4 separate regions of the Homo sapiens genome follow, and regions 1, 2 and 4 are each linked to region 3. The links are contacts of gene promoters, found by promoter capture Hi-C in blood cells and fetal thymus (Javierre and others, 2016). All regions are on one chromosome and are shown on one strand. The core of a region is centred on a gene start or on the middle of the fragment in contact, and the rest is flanking DNA. Distances in the headings are between cores, read along the strand shown.

Region 1 (3,931 bases), core at 690-3,189, 530 kb after region 3:
GCACCAAGTGCATGGATAGATCTTTGGGTCACACATTAATGATGACTGAAGGCCATATACACATTTGAGGTTCTCAGTCACCATCTAGACAGGGTGGCCCATCCTGTGCGTTTGTCATCCAATCTCTCCCCTCAGATATCTCAGTATTTGTTCAATGTGTCTTTGAAGAGAGTGGTCAAGGTAACAAGGACACAGTTTACACAAAAGTCCTAAAACAGGGATTCTGATTTATTTACTGTGATTGCTGAGTACCCAACCTACTAGCAAAAAAGACCATTGCTGAGTCCTTGAAATGGCATCCTTCATCATGTACACCAGCTAGCAAACTGGTGACAAGTCAATGACATTGGAATGCTTCTGTGTTAGAGCAGACAGCAATGCATCTTTCCTAGAATTGACACCAGCTCCAGAGGGAGATTTTCTTTAGCGTGAGGCATTACCCACACACATACACACATACACACACACCAGCACATGGCATAATGCCCAGGATATTGTAACAATTTTTTGGAGAATAAATGAGTGAATAAATGAATGAATACTAGAAATAAGAGTGTGAGCCAAAGAGTGAAAGGCTTACATAAATTTGGGGAGATGAGTGACGCTTCTCTAGTCTCTTTTTCCTTATTCCTCAACCCAGGACATAGATCAAGCTCTTTACTGGGCCATGATAATCGCTGTTCATGTATATCCCCATCTGCAATCTCTCTCTGACAGCTCCTTCCCTCCAGGCTTAAACTATCACATCTCTCTTGTTGGTAAAGTACTCTGACAGATACTATTTTATTTTATCTTTACCACAATCTCATGAGATAGGGATGTGGAGAGGGATAGGTTCATCAATATCCATTTTCTCTTCTTCTTCCCGGACCCAGGGCTCAACGTTATTTCCCAATCTATTTGCCATTAGGTTAGGACTGGATTACCTAGTTCAGACAAATGGAAAGTGATGTGTGCCACTTCCAGGCCTGGCACATACAAATCTCTCATATGACTCTCCTTTCTGATCCATGGAGACCCTGAAAGCCACATTCTGAAGATGGCAGCTCCAAAAGATGGAAGGAAACTGGGTGCCTGAATGACTGCCTGGAGCAAAGGCCCCTGTCTGACTTGCATTGGACTTATGCATAAACAAGAAAGGTTTTTATCTTATTCAACCTCTGAGAGTTTGAGATTGTGACAACAGTTAGCCAAGCCTGAATAAGCAGAAAGACAGGAGTGAATTTTATTACAAAGAATGTACAGAAACTGAAACATCAAAAAGTGGAAAAAGTGTAAGTAATGAAAAATCACCTGGTTTATGGCCAAACACACCTAGAAATGGTTTCATGGTTCCATCACTTGCTGGCTGTGTGTCTTTAAGCACATCATTTAATATTTCTGAGCATCAGTTTTCGTATTTGTTAAATAAAGGGGAAAATATCTGTCTCGCAGTTTTATCATAAGAATGGTGATAATATTTATAAGGTGCCAGGGTGGCACACAGTAGGTGGCATACAGTAGGTTCTCAATGAACATCCACTCTCACTGTTGTTACATCAGAGATTCACATGGTTAATCATATCAGAGCTGGAGTCAGAGTCCCATTTTCTGAAGGCCAACCCAGAACAGCCTCTACTGTACACCGTATTTTTCCCCAGCCCTGCTTTATAGTTGAAACTTAATTATAAAGGAGTCCTCCTTAGCATTCATGTTTGTGAGAACAAGGCTGGGAACTTCTTGTGAACACTCTGCCTGCACATCTATGAAAGGCTGGGATTAGGTCCCCAGGGCACAACTGCAGTGGTGTGGCATGAGTCTAATTATAAGAGAATTCTACTGAATTTGGAATAAAGGTAATGAAGAAGTCACGAATAATGACCAAAGCTACAGTATTTCACTCTGCAGTTTTTAGATTCAAACTTTGCCTGTTTCTAAGACTATGTGAACCAGCTATGAACATAAAAATAAATAAATAAATAAATAAATAAATAAATAAATAAATAAATGCATTTCAAGAGTAAGTTTTTGCAGTCTCTATTCAACATCCTTTACTCCTGCATGAGTCTCACTGTGCCCTCTGGTGGTGGCTGTGAATTTAATTGGGTTTGTTTATTCCTAGACTCTAAAGGAGTGTTGGAAATTCTCATGCTGGAGCGTTGGAACTTCATCCTTGCAAAAGATTCTGGTAATCACATTTACATACACCAACTGTCCAGGGAAGATAAGGGTGACGGACCTTAGAGTGCTCTGCCTGGAGGTCACTGGAGAACGATGAGAGGCTCAGAAAGGTGTTGGCAGGAATGGAGAGGAGCAAGCATTTGAAGGGAGGATTTGGAAGTAGGCATGCATTAGAGAAAGGAGGCAAAACAATGAAAGAATAGGCTAGGAAATCTCTCCCAGACCACTGGCCACATCCAGGCTCTTGAAGGCTACTCTTCTCCCAAAAGGTACAAGAAGTACAAAACTCCAAGGGGCAATTTAAAGACAGCACCATTCATTTCTACCACACTGCAATTCCTCGCTCATCTGCCTCCATCCTTGCACCTGCCAGAGATGCTGGCCAGCAATTCCCAGGCAAAGGAAATGGTGCAGGTCATGATACCTGAAATCTCACAGCCACTGTTAGCATGACTGAGTTGCTCCCTGTAGAGATTCACATCTTAAGAGAAGACTCTTCTGGGCTCCAAAGCAGAGTGCAAGCAGTCCTAGGAAAATGTAACACCTTTTTGTTTTTGTTTTTTAAGACTTTTGGAAAAACTGGAATAAGCAAAGATAAGTGGCTTTCTGTGCTGCAGGACATCTTTGAGCCTTAAGTACAACTAATATGCTATGAGAGTTAGCTATGGAGAATTATAGAACAGCTTTTCCAGAATTTATTTGGGAATCATACTTACTTACAAGATGCTGTCCAGAACTCACTTGAGAAATACTTTCTTTTTTTTTTTTTTTGAGATGGAGTCTCGCTCTGTCGCCCAGGCTGGAGTGCAGTGGCGCCATCTCAGCTCACTGCAAGCTCCGCCTCCCGGGTTCACGCCATTCTCCTGCCTCAGCCTCCCGAGTAGCTGGGACTACAGGCGCCCGCCACTGCACCTGGCTAATTTTTTGTATTTTTAGTAGAGATGGGGTTTCACCATGTTAGCCAGGATGGTCTAGATCTCCTGACCTCATGATCCGCCCTCCTTGGCCTCCCAAAGTGCTGGGATTACAGGCATGAGCCACCGCGCCTGGCCGAGAAATACTTTCTAAAACAATGGTAAACTCATTCTTTTTAAGGTCCTGACTGCCAGAGGCAGGCCCTTGTGATAGTACTAGTCTAGGTTTCAAGATACCAGAGTTCCCCATTGGATCTTCCACTCTGTGAGTGCTTTTGGCTCGTTCTTTTCATTTCTTTGGGTTCCATTTCCTTTCCTGCAAACCAAGGAGTTTGGAGAGATCTGCAGTTTTCTCTGAGACAGAGAAACTCGGGGCTCCATGGAAGTACTCCATTGGTTCCACAACAGTCATGCAACATCCACAAATTACAAAAATGGGAACTCCTAGTCCATTCATTTCTTTTTACCTGTTTTACATTGAGGATTTACCAAATAGTTCATTTGAATAAAAGAGATTATTTGAACTGGGCATGGTGGCTCATACCTATAATCCCAAAATTTTGGGAGGCCAAAGCAGGATAATCACTTGAGGCCAGGAGTTCAAGACCAGACTAAGCAGCATAGCAAGACCCTGCCTCTCCAAAAAATAAAGAAAATTAGCCAGGCATGGTGGTGTGCATCTGAAGTCTCAGCTGTCTCAGCTATCCCAGCTACTCAGGAGGCCGAGGTGGGAGGATTGCTTGAGACCAGGAGTTCAAAGCTGCAGTGAGCCACGATGGCATCACTGCACTACAGCCTGGGAGAGAGACTGAGACCCTGTCTCTAAAAACAGTGTATTTGTGAAAACTGGTTGAACA
Region 2 (3,921 bases), core at 606-3,105, 750 kb before region 3:
AAATACAAAAATTAGCCAGGCTTGGTGGTGCGTGCCTGTAATCCCAGCCATTCGGGAAGCTGAGGCAGGAGAATCGCTTGAACCTGGGAGGCGGAGGATGCAGTGAACCGAGATTGCGCCACTGCACTCCAGCCGGGGGGACAGGGTGAGACTCCGTCTCAAAAAAAAAAAAAAATGGGTCTTCCCACATCCACTGCTTTCCCTTCCAATCTTTCCTCCGTATTGTAGCCTCAAGGATCTTGCAAATAACACAAATCTGGTCATGTCGCTGTCTTAAGACCCTCTTCTCACCTGCCTCAGTTTTCACACCAGGTCTACACTGCTTAAAGCTCTCCTCACCCTTCCAGCTCCTCCCAACCCTTCACCTTCACCGAGTTAATGTTTACTCATGTATCAGATTTCAGGTTAGACACGCTTCCTCCAAGAAGCTTTCGCAGATACACAAGTTAGTATCTGCCCGTACTTCTCTTACATAATACTCTCTATACTTGTTATTGTCATTTGTTTAGTTTTTATTTAGATTAACTTCCATCAGAAGGGCAGAGTAGCTGCTGTAACTTCAGTTACTATAAATGGGCCTGGCACATACTTTGCACTCAATAAATATCTTCTGAAGTAAATGAAATGAATCAATCTTGCTCCTGGGTTTACGTTTCAGTGATTCAAACGGGCATACTTGGTACACAACGTGAGGTCCTGGAAGGTATAACTTGTGTTTTCATTTTTGAATTTCTAAATTCTAGCAGAGTTTTTGGCACACTCTATGCACCCAATAAGCTATCTGAATAAACTTTTCTTGGAACATGAGTGTCTGAATGTCCTGATAACTCCAACACGTTCCCTTCCTGTAATTCCTAAAGCCCAGGAACACTTATTGCCTTCCATCAGTTAGTGAACTACTGATGCTCCAAAATGGGTCACGCCTCCTTCCCCTCCACACCCAACTCGTTTTGTTTTGTTTGTTTTGTTTTGTTAGACGGAGTCTCACTCTATTGCCCAGGCTGGAGTGCAATGGCGCAATCTCGGCTCACTGCAACCTCTGCCTCCCAGGTTTAAGTGATTCTCCTGCCTCAGCCTCCCGCCCGGCTAATTTTTGTATTTCCACCACCACGTCCGGCTAATCTTTGTATTTTTAGTAGAGACGGGGTTTTACCATGTTGGCCAGGCTGGTCCCAAACTCCTGACATCATGATCCGCCGGCCTCGGCCTGCCAAAGTGCTGGGATTACAGGCGGGAGCCACCGCGCCCGGCCCCACACCCCCAACTCTTAGCCCGAAACTCAGACCCCGGGTTTTCGACTATTAAAAGTAGTCACAGGACCGCGACACTGCACTTCAGCCTGGGCAAAAGAGCGAGACTCCCCCTCAAAAAAAAAAGTAGTCACAGAAAACTGAATTAAATTACTGACCTGAAGTAATCGCAAGCAGAGGCGTCCCTGACTGACTTCTATATCCCTCCACCCCAACCCCCTGGGCCCTGCACAGCGGGTGTCTGTTGAATATTCTCCCGGCTGTTGAGCCCAAACCTGATGAGAGGAAAGGCTCGGCTTCCACTCCAAGCCGAGCCTTCCGCTGTTCTTCTGTCCCGGCCCTTGGTGTCCCCTCACGCGGCCCCATTAGGTTACGCGCCCCCGGGGACTCCGCCGCCGCCCCAGCCCGCGCCCCGCGGTCCCACTCACTGTTCTTGAGGAATCGCTCCTCGTGCAGCACTGCGATGGCGTTGACGCAGAGCAGGGCTGCCTGCAGCAGTGAGTACAGGGTAAAGGCCATGGCCGTCCGAGGCCGCCCCGAAGTCCAAGCGATTTCTCTCCCGCCGCCGCAAGGGACGTGGCGCCTCCACGGCCGGCGCCTTCCTACGGAAGCCGATGGGGCCCAAAACGAACTCTCCGGGAAGCCCCGCCTCCATCTGGCTAAGAACCGCCCCTCGCTGAAGACTGCAAGTCCTGCCGCTTGTCTAGACCGGTGATGTGCAATCAATGCTCTGATGTGGCCAGTGCTGCAGGTGCAAAATACACACCGGATTTCACACACTTGGAACTGGAACAAGGATGAAGAATATCCCAATAATTTTTTTTTTTTTGAGATGGAGTCTGGCCCTGTCGCCCAAACTGGAGTGCAGTGGCACGATCTCGGCTCACTGCAAGCTCCGACTCCCGGGTTCACGCCATTCTCCTGCCTCAGCCTCCCAAGTAGCTGGGACTACAGGTGCCCGCCACCACGCCCGGCTAATTTTTTGTATTTTTAGTAGAGACGGGGTTTCACCGTGTTAGCCAGGATGGTCTCAATCTCCTGACCTCGTGATTCCCCCCTCCTCGGCCTCCCAATAATTTTTAAATGTTGATAACATGTTGAAATGAAAATATTTTGAGGCCGGGCGCAGTGGCTCACGCCTGTAATTCTAGCACTTTGGGAAACCGAGGCGGGCAAATCACCTAAGGTCAAGAGTTCGAGACCAGTCTGGCCAACATGGCAAAACCCTGTCTCTACTGAAAATACAAAAATTAGCTGGGTGTGATGGTGGGCTCCTGTAATCCCAGCTACTCAGGAGGCTGAGAGAAGAGAATCACTTGAACCCGGGAGGCAGAGACTGCAGTGAGCCGAGATCCAGCCTGGGTGACAGAGCAAGAGGAAAGAAGGAAGGAAGGGAGGAAGGTTTCTTGTTTATTTTTAATTATTTTATTTAATGTGGTTATGAAGATACTGTAAATGACATGTGACGCTTGCATTATATTTCTATTGCTCAGTACTGCACTTGATGCTCCCAGGAGATACAGGAGATACTAATATTCCCATTTCAGATTTCAGAATGCTAAAACAAAATAACTGTTTTAAAATTACTCAGTGAGAAACATCCCCTCCTTGACCAAACTCCAACCAAGATCCTCTGAGCCTCTTCTTTTTTTTTTTCCCCCCCCAGGAACAGGGTCTTGCTCTGTTGCCCAGGCTGGAGTGCAGTGGCACCATCATAGCTCAATGCAGCCTTCAGCTCCTGGCTCGAGCAGTCCTCCTGCCTTAGCCTCCTGCTTAGCTGTATGTGATGGTTAAGACTGAGTGTCAACTTGATTGGATTGAAGGATGCAAAGTATTGATCCTGGGTGTGTCTGTGAGGGTGTTGCCAAAGGAGATTAACATTTGAGTCAGTGGGCTGGGAAAGACAGGTCCACTCTTAATCCAAGTGGGCACCATCTAATCAGCTGCTGGAGTGGCCAGGATATAAAGCAGGCAAAAAACCAATGAAAAGGGTATGCCAAGACCAGCTCGGTTGGGGAGACCCTAACCCAGCGGTGCTAGAGGAATTAAAGACACACACAGAGGTGTGAAGTGGGAAATCAGGGGTCTTATAGCCTTCAGAGCTGAGATCCCCGAACAAAGATTTACCCACGTATTTATTAACAGCAAACCAGTCATTAGCATTGTTTCTATAGATGTTAAATTAACTAAAAGTATCCCTTATGGGAAATGAAGGGATGGGCCGAATTAATTGCAGCAGGAACACATCCTTAAGACACAGATCTCTCAGGCTTTTGTTTGTGGCTTAAGAATGCCTTTAAGCAGTTTTCCAACCTGGGTGGGCCAGGTATTCCTTGCCCTCATTCCCGTAAACCCACAACCTTCCAGCTTGGGCGTTAGGGCCATTATGGACATGTTATAGTGCTGCAGAGATTTTATTTATGGCCAGTTTTGGGGCTAGTTTATGGCCAGACTGTTGGGGGCTTGCTCTCAACAAGGGTAGACTGGCTTAGCCTCCCAGCCTACATCTTTCTCCCATGCTGGATGCTTCCTACCCTTGAACGTTGGACTTCAAGTTCTTCAGCTTTGGGACTCAGACTGGCTTCCTCAGCTTGCAGACGGCTTATTGTGGGATCTTGTGATCGTGTGAGTTAATAGTACCGAATAAGCTCCCTCTTTGTATATATATCTC
Region 3 (3,643 bases), core at 628-3,127:
GAGCAATTTCTTACTAAAACCCCAAAATGAACGTTTCCAATCACATTACATTAATTAAACCTGGCCAGTGAACAGCCTTGAACTCAATTAAATCCAGCAGAGTTTAATATTTATAGTAAAAGTGGGCACACTCTTTAGAAATGCCGAAAGATGTGAACTATTTATATTTACTACGACAGCTAAGTTTACGGCAACGGCTAAGGAACTTTAAAAATAAAAGTATTACTTTTGAATTTAATATAAACGTTTGCTAAATGACCTTCTGGCAGAGGAAATTCTTTAAATATCTTGTATGGGTTTTCCGAAGGCAAATTTTTTAAATACCCTCAAACTATGGTACATTTATGAAGCCCATTTTAAATTACTTCTCCCATCTCTGCTTCATCTGCTTCACTAATTCATGTATTAAAACTGTTGAAACTCCATTTAACTATTTGACTAACTTCTCTGTAAGATGGAAACTTTTTAAAGGGTGTTAAAGTAGAATAGCAAATTTTCAGCATAATAAGAGCAAATTTATTACTAGGCTCAAGGAAAACATCCTATCAGCGATTCATTCATACGAAACTATCAGGTTCAATTCATATGAAGTCAGAAGAGAGAAAAAGAATTTTGGAAATTAAATCACATTTCAAAGACCATTTCTAAAAAGATGTAATTATTCCAAGTTATTTATTTATTAACAATTATTTTACACATGTCGTTTTAAAAGTTTCACAAACCCAAATTTAAGATAGTCCAAATTGCAACAAACAAGACATGACTTTGATGGAAAATGCTGCTTGCAAATTCGTTTTACCTGGAAATTTCTTTTTTAAAGGTATGGTTGACAACACACTGGTGGTATTTTGCTTTTAAAGGGTCAAGAGAAAGGAATAACAAAACCAACCCAGGCATTCTTTTTCTGTTTAGGATCAAAAGGACATTTTAAGGATAAGTAAAAGACAAAAGTACCTGACCCAAAGACAATATCCCCCTCCAAGAGAACAAAGTAAGTTGCAATTTTAAAAACCAAGTTTGAAATACGAGAAATCACTTCGAGGGCTTTCCAAAGGCGTGTGATAAAAACTAATAGGCTCCACCCGCAGAACAACTTTCACAAGTGAGTGAAGGATGATCACAGAGTTATCAGCTGTGTGCGTGTTTGTGAGTACACACAAGCCATGGAAAACCCGAGACTACCACTGTTAACAAAGGTTACGAGACCAAAAAAAAAAAGTGGAGGCAAAGTATTACGCGTCCCTAACAAGGCTTCCCCACAACTCCTGAAACAAGAGCTCTGGCCCTTCGGCTTTAAAAATCAGAACCACAAACTATGGAGTGTGAGAGCAGCGAGGGGAAGGGACGCAGGCAGCCCCCGCCCCCGTCAGCCTGGGCGGCAGCGCAGTGCAACCGAGCCCCGTCCCTTCCCGGCTCTCCGGCCCCGAACCCGCACGCCCGGGCCGGCGCACCCACAGCCCCCGAACTCACCACACCCCAGCCCCCACCCGCAGCGGCCATGTGACACGGCCCATCGCCCCGGCCGCGGACGCACGCAAACACTTCCCTAGCTGGAGGCCCGCGGGCGCCCAGGCTTTACCTGCAAGGTGGCGCCAGGTCCCGCCCCGTCAGATCCGGGGGGTCCGGGACCTTTTGTTCCTTCCTCTTCCGATGGGATGGAGGGGGCTGGGAGGGGAAGAGGGGAATGGGCGATTGGAGGCGGAACTGAAAACACTCCCGGCCGCCGTCTTCCCGCCCCGCCCCCAGGCCCGGGCCCGGCCGGCGGCCCGGGCGCGCGGGAGGGTAGGGGAAGAGAGGGGAGGGGAGGGGAGGAGAGGGAAGGGGAGGGGAGGGAGCCTGGCCGCCGCCCGCGGGGAAGGAGGGGGTGAGGACGCGCGCGCCCGCGCTGCCCCTCCTCCCCTCAGGCGCGCGCCCGCAGCCCTACCGGCCGCCCGCACGGCCGCGCCCTCCCCCGCCAGCCCACCTCCGCTTCCGCCCTCCGCCCTCGGCCGCCGGCCGCCGCGGCGCCACGCACCCACCTCCCGGCGGCTGGCGGGCTGCTGGCTGGCGAGCTGCTTCTCCGCCGCCGCGGCCGCGCGGGTAGACCCGCCTGCCACCCTGGGCCGCGGGCCCCGCCGATTCGCCGGCGCAGCCCCGGGGCTGGCACCCTGCCGCCCGCTGATTGGCGCCTCCAGCCGCCCGTTAGGGCGCGAGGCACGCCGGCCGAAAGCCGCGCGGGGCGGGTATGGAAGACGGAGGGAGCGGAGGAGGAAAGGAACGAGGCCGAGCACCGCGGGAAGGGCCGGGGGGCGAGCGGGGCGCGGGGAGTCGCCGGCCACCGCCTCCCCACCTCCCTTTGCCTACGGCCCGCCCCGCCTCCCGGCCGGACCGGCGGCGCCCGCAGCCAATCAGCACGAGGGAAGCTCGGGGTGTGAGCCGCGCATCGGGGGCCTCGAATCGGAAGGGAGACGTCGCTCGCTGATTGGTCCCGCCTCCCCAGTCTAGCGTGAGGCGAGGCGGGGCGCGGCCGGGCGGGGCGGGACGCCCGCGGTTTCGCTTGAGTTGGGCGCCGGCGCGCTCCCACCGGGGCTCACGGGCGGAGAGGGAGAGGCCCGCGCCTTGCCGCGCATTAAGACGATTCCCGGTGACCGCCCGATCCCTCGCCAGCGTCGTGGGTGGGGCCTGTAGGGGCCTGCCGCCTCGTCCACCGTCCGTCGTGAGGCCGGCAGCGGACACGTGCTCATCCCACGGGGAGGCCCCGCGCAGCGCGGAGGACGCGCCTGAGAGAGAAAAGGGGTTCGGGAGAAGCCCGAGGACCCGGCCCGTGACTGGGCGCGCCCTATGCAAATGAGCGGGCGGGGCCCTCGTGTTGCTGAACGAGGGCGGGTTCGCGATGTAAATAAGCCCAGAGGTGGGGTCTTTGGAGAGCACTTAGGGCCCGGGTAGGGGATGCCAGGTATAAGTGTTTAACCTAAATTTTGGTTCCGTCTTCAGTAAAAATGATATCAATAATCCATGTCCCGAAGGGTCTTTGTGAAGTCTAAAAGAAACATCTGTCACGATGTCCCTTAATGGCTGGGATATCTTCCCTTCCCCTTTTCTCCACTGTTGCGACGATTAGGCCCCAACTTGCACATCTGCCCTACAGGAGGCAGCAAGGCCCTAAACTTACGGCTGCCCAGAACATAACTGCACCCAGGGAAAACCTTGTTGCGGTTACCCTTAGGAACACCCAAGCCTCTGCTGACAAAATATTGAGCCCAACTAATCACATCAGGTGTTTACTATGCACCCACTGTGACACAGGCAGGGAGTACCGTAGAACTAAAGTTGAAAAGAAACTTAGGTTTCACACAGGTGCCAGAGACAAGACTAGAACACAGTTTTTTTTTGGCTGCCTGTCCAGTAATTCATTCTCATGTGTGGCTTAGTTTATAGATTTAATTGGGGACTTCAAATAAGCGGGAAAGAAGCACTAGCAATACAAATCGGTAATCAGGAAGTACCAAATGAGCACTCCAAACAGTAAGAGTTTTTGAAGTATACGCTTTCTTCTGAGAAATGAACGTGTCCCAGAGGAGGGTGCCTTCAGATGGACCTTAAGAGAGATGTGGCCATCCCCTGAGTCATACAAGTTTTCCAGATGTCCTTTCAAAATCTCTGT
Region 4 (3,730 bases), core at 767-3,266, 510 kb after region 3:
TCCTTTAACTGGAGATCATCAGGAATCCTCCACTCATATTAAAAATATAATCTTCGCTTATAGTTGGAACACCCCCATTTCGAATTTTCAAGCTGGAGGAATCTCAGAATAGGACAGCGAGGAGGTTGACGGCCTGCAGTCATGTGCTAGTTAGTATCCTAGGAAGGACTCAATTACAGAATGCCTGACTCCAGTCCAGGGACCTTGCCACAACCTTACCCCATCCCCGCCACCCCTGGGCTCAGGGAAACAAATCCCAATTCATTGCTTAATCGGGCTGAGGACTCAGCCCCACCAGTCCTCCACCGAATCTAACTACAGGAGGAAATGCTCCAAGTCCTCGGCTGAGTTCTCCGTAGTCAGACCCCTCTGTCAGGAAAGTGGCTTAAATGAATTTAAACCCACCCAGGTTGGCCTGTGAGGGCTGTTCCATTAAAGCTGAAGGCCAGGCAGGATTCCGCTTGTTGAAATCTGTGTTCCTTTTGTACACTTTTAAAGTCACATCTGGTGCTGACCTTAGAAACAGCACTTGTGTGCTGAATGAATGCAGTGTGACTGCGTGTGCTCAGGGTTTTGGGACTTCTCTGAAAGGCGCTCCCAACCCTCCCAAACTGGCACAGGATGTCCGGCCGTGGTCGGCTTCCTCCACCGCGGCAGAGGATGCCAACTGAAACACGACCTCCTGCCAAGACTCTGGGACCACGCTCAGATCCAGGTCCCTGGGGGCAAAAGGCAGCTCTGTGCCAAGTTCTCCAAAGCCCGGCTCCTCCCGGGCTCTCATCCTGAAAGTGCTCTGGCCTCCTCTTTGGAAAAGGCCCATCAATCTTCTGAGGATTTCTGACACCGGTCGGAGCGCTGGAAACTGCAAGCCCTTCTCAGTCTGTCAGCTGCCTCACACTCTCCAGCCCGGCGAAGCTGTGTGCAGTGTCTGGAAAAGCAGTTACTGGTTTGGTTGTGGTCTGCCTTTGCAGCTGAGCTGGTTCCAAGTGCCACGTCCTCCACCGGCTGCTCTGGCCCAGGACACTCAGGAAAGGTGACAAGGCGGCCCCCTTGCACACTTGCCTGGAGCTATGCTCCCTCCATTTCTTGGAATCCAAGTATATTTTCTTTTGTGGAATGAATGAATACAAAGGGTGCCACCCCTTTGCCCAGCCCCCCATCTGAAATTCTTCCTCCAGCTGTCTCGATAGCGATGCTTGACAGACTGGAGGAGAATAGTTTGAATGAAGCTTCCCAGTGCAATATTTCCCTGGGCTTGAGTTGAATTGATCTAGCCTGTGATGCCATTTATCTTCACAACCTTCTTAGAGAGGAGCAGGGGAACAAATCTCTTTCGTTCGCATATGGGGAAACTGAGACTAAGGGAAGCTACAGAGACAACTGTAGGGAAAAAGCCAGCAGAGCAGGGCCAATCTGAGAAAATGCATGCTGATGAGATAGTCTTTTCCTGAGGGATTTACACAATCACTGGGCATAGAGGACAACATGGGAGGGGACTTAGGAAGAACTGGAGATGGGCCCCCTTACAAAATTCGTTTGGGTGAACTCAAATTTAAACGTGCACCCCCACCTCCAAGTCTGGTACTCTTGTGCTGGTGCCCCAAAACCTAGGACAGGAGATGGCAGCTCCAGCGAGGTTTCCCTGATCACTCCTGTCCCCATCCAGCCCTCCCCTCTAAGCTATTCTCTCAATCACAGCCTGAACCACCCTTCCTTCTTTATGGTTTTTTACTGTTTTCAAATTCATGTTGGTCTTCTCTCACTCAGCTAGATTACTTGCTGCTTCTCAAGGGATGGACTGTGCCCTAGATTTTAGAAACCCCAACCCTTCTGGGTTTTCTCTTTGTTTTCTCACTGTTTGCCAAATGATGGTGTCACACACACAGCCCCAGGGGCAGGATCAAAGAAGGCAGTCACTTGGGACTTGGGGGAAAGCAGTCTTGTTTTCCATGAGAAACAACCAGGGGGAGAAAAAAATCAATGTCTGAAATAACTGTTGAGAAAGAAGTGTGGCTTTCTCTTGGAGTCATAGAAAGTGGTTCTGATGTCAGCCTCACACGTAAGAGAATGGATCCAGGGTGAATCCCTAGTAGCTGGCTGAGGCTGACTCAACCCACAGGGAGCTGCCCAGCACATCAAGTATGTGGATTCTCCAGCAGCTACTCCTGCCAGAAACTTCTACCTGTGCCTATTATGCCCATGGCCCCATGATCTCCTGGAACAGCAACCCGAGGGGCCTACCTACCATGTTTCAGCCTCACAGCCAGCCAATTTCACCTCCCTGGCACTACCCATAGTAAATGCCATGAAGGAGACTCAGACTCAGGGGACCACAAATCTGCCCCATCTTGAGCAAATGATTTCCATTCTCTGGCTCTTGGTGTTAGTATCTTTGTAAAACAAAAAAATCAGACTAGCTGATCTGTGAGGGACCCTCTACCTCCAAAACTGCATTGTCTAGACTGGCAGGGAGTGTGTGGGTTTGGTTCTTATTTGGTTGGTTATCTTGTGTATGTCTTGGCCCATGCATGGCCACTTTGGCCCAGGGTGGAGAGCATCATTATCTACACCAAGTACTCTGTAACTAGAGAGTGACTATGTTGCTCCCCTCCAGGGAGGCCAGGGGTGGGCCTAAGGCATCCCAAAAGATGTGTGAAATGTCTTTGAAGTCAATAATTTCCCTTAGAAATTCATGTATATTTTGCATTCTTTTCTATATTATTACTGAGTTGCTTAATATAGGAATTTTTGTCCCCAAATCTTAGGATAAAGTGACCCTCCAGGAGGATGCTTCTTGCTAAAAGAAGCTTGTTTGAGCTTCCTGTAATGAACTGCTACATACTCCTGAAACGGGTTTAAGAAGCACTAATCTGGCCAGGCATGGTGGCTCATGCCTGTAATCCCAGCACTTCGGGAGGCCGAGGCAGGCAGATCATGAAGTCAGGAGATTGAGACCATCCTGGCTAACATGATGAAACCCTATCTCTACTAAAAACACAAAAAAATTAGCCAGGCGTGGTGGTGGGCACCTGTAGTCCCAGCTACTTGGGATGCTGAGGCAGGAGAATGGCATGAACCCAGGAGGTGGAGGTTGCAGTGAGCCAAGGTCACGCCACTGCACTCCAGCCTGGGTGACAGAGCAAGACTCCGTCTCAAAACAAAAACAAAAACAAAAACAAAAACAAAAAAACAAAAAAGAAGCACTAATAAGCACTAATCTGTGGGTGTTTGCAGGAACACCCAGGGCTGAAAATTCATCTTTTGATCCATCCAGGAATCCCTTCTCAGATATTCATCCTTTTCTGTTAAAATGCAAATTCCCTTGGGAAGGGGCTAAAAGTTAGAAAAAAACTGAGACAAATACAAAATTCTTTACTTGTGTCTGAGAGTCAATTACAGCAGGACAGTCCGTGGCTCTTTGGATCAGCAGTGGCTGGTGGCTGAGGATTTTGGTAAACTTCAGTTGAGTCAACACTGTGATTTGACTGTGTCCTTCAGAGCAAGAAGGACTTAGTCTCAGCACTAAGCAGGCCTCCTGGAGAACTGCATTCAGAGCTGGAACCATATGTCAGAGGGATTTGGACTAAACAGCAATGATCTGGACAGAGATCACGGACGTATGTCACATGGGGAATGAATGGAGAGATCAGGATGGGAGTGGGCTGGGAGATGCTCCCAATAGTCATCATGGGAATGGGTTTTTGATTTGTGTAGCTCCAAAGGGCAGAAC

What was found. The method cuts DNA at HindIII sites, captures the fragments that hold promoters and counts their contacts. A CHiCAGO score of 5 or more calls a contact.
Region 1: a fragment that was not itself captured here is called in contact with the fragment with the promoter of SMAD2 in region 3 in 3 of 17 cell types (M2 macrophages, M0 macrophages and M1 macrophages); the score reaches 6.2 in M2 macrophages.
Region 2: the fragment with the promoter of IER3IP1 here is called in contact with the fragment with the promoter of SMAD2 in region 3 in 13 of 17 cell types (activated CD4 T cells, naive CD8 T cells, naive B cells and 10 more); the score reaches 16.6 in activated CD4 T cells.
Region 4: a contact is called between a fragment that was not itself captured here and the fragment with the promoter of SMAD2 in region 3, in 4 of 17 cell types (M1 macrophages, M2 macrophages, M0 macrophages and 1 more). The highest score is 9.1, in M1 macrophages.

The regions. Positions count from the first base shown.
Region 1 is chr18:48,463,346-48,467,276 of GRCh38, forward strand. No RefSeq gene overlaps it. Among named protein-coding and RNA genes, the nearest start is that of ZBTB7C, 56 kb to the left of the region's middle. The HindIII fragment of the contact is 6,511 bases long and covers 1-3,931 here.
Region 2 is chr18:47,174,509-47,178,429 of GRCh38, forward strand. IER3IP1 (immediate early response 3 interacting protein 1) reads right to left here and starts at 1,856. Exons shown (of 3, transcript NM_016097.5): 1 at 1,679-1,856. The coding sequence starts at 1,769. RefSeq lists enhancers at 1,765-1,884, 1,895-2,024. The HindIII fragment of the contact is 4,620 bases long and covers 427-3,921 here.
Region 3 is chr18:47,928,782-47,932,424 of GRCh38, forward strand. It overlaps SMAD2 (SMAD family member 2), which reads right to left and starts at 1,878. Exons shown (of 11, transcript NM_005901.6): 1 at 1,580-1,878. It overlaps LOC124904297 (a long non-coding RNA gene), which reads right to left. Exons shown (of 2, transcript XR_007066360.1): 2 at 3,407-3,643. RefSeq lists silencers at 1,307-1,836, 1,867-2,796. The HindIII fragment of the contact is 8,478 bases long and covers 1-3,643 here.
Region 4 is chr18:48,440,899-48,444,628 of GRCh38, forward strand. No RefSeq gene overlaps it. Among named protein-coding and RNA genes, the nearest start is that of ZBTB7C, 33 kb to the left of the region's middle. The HindIII fragment of the contact is 1,578 bases long and covers 1,228-2,805 here.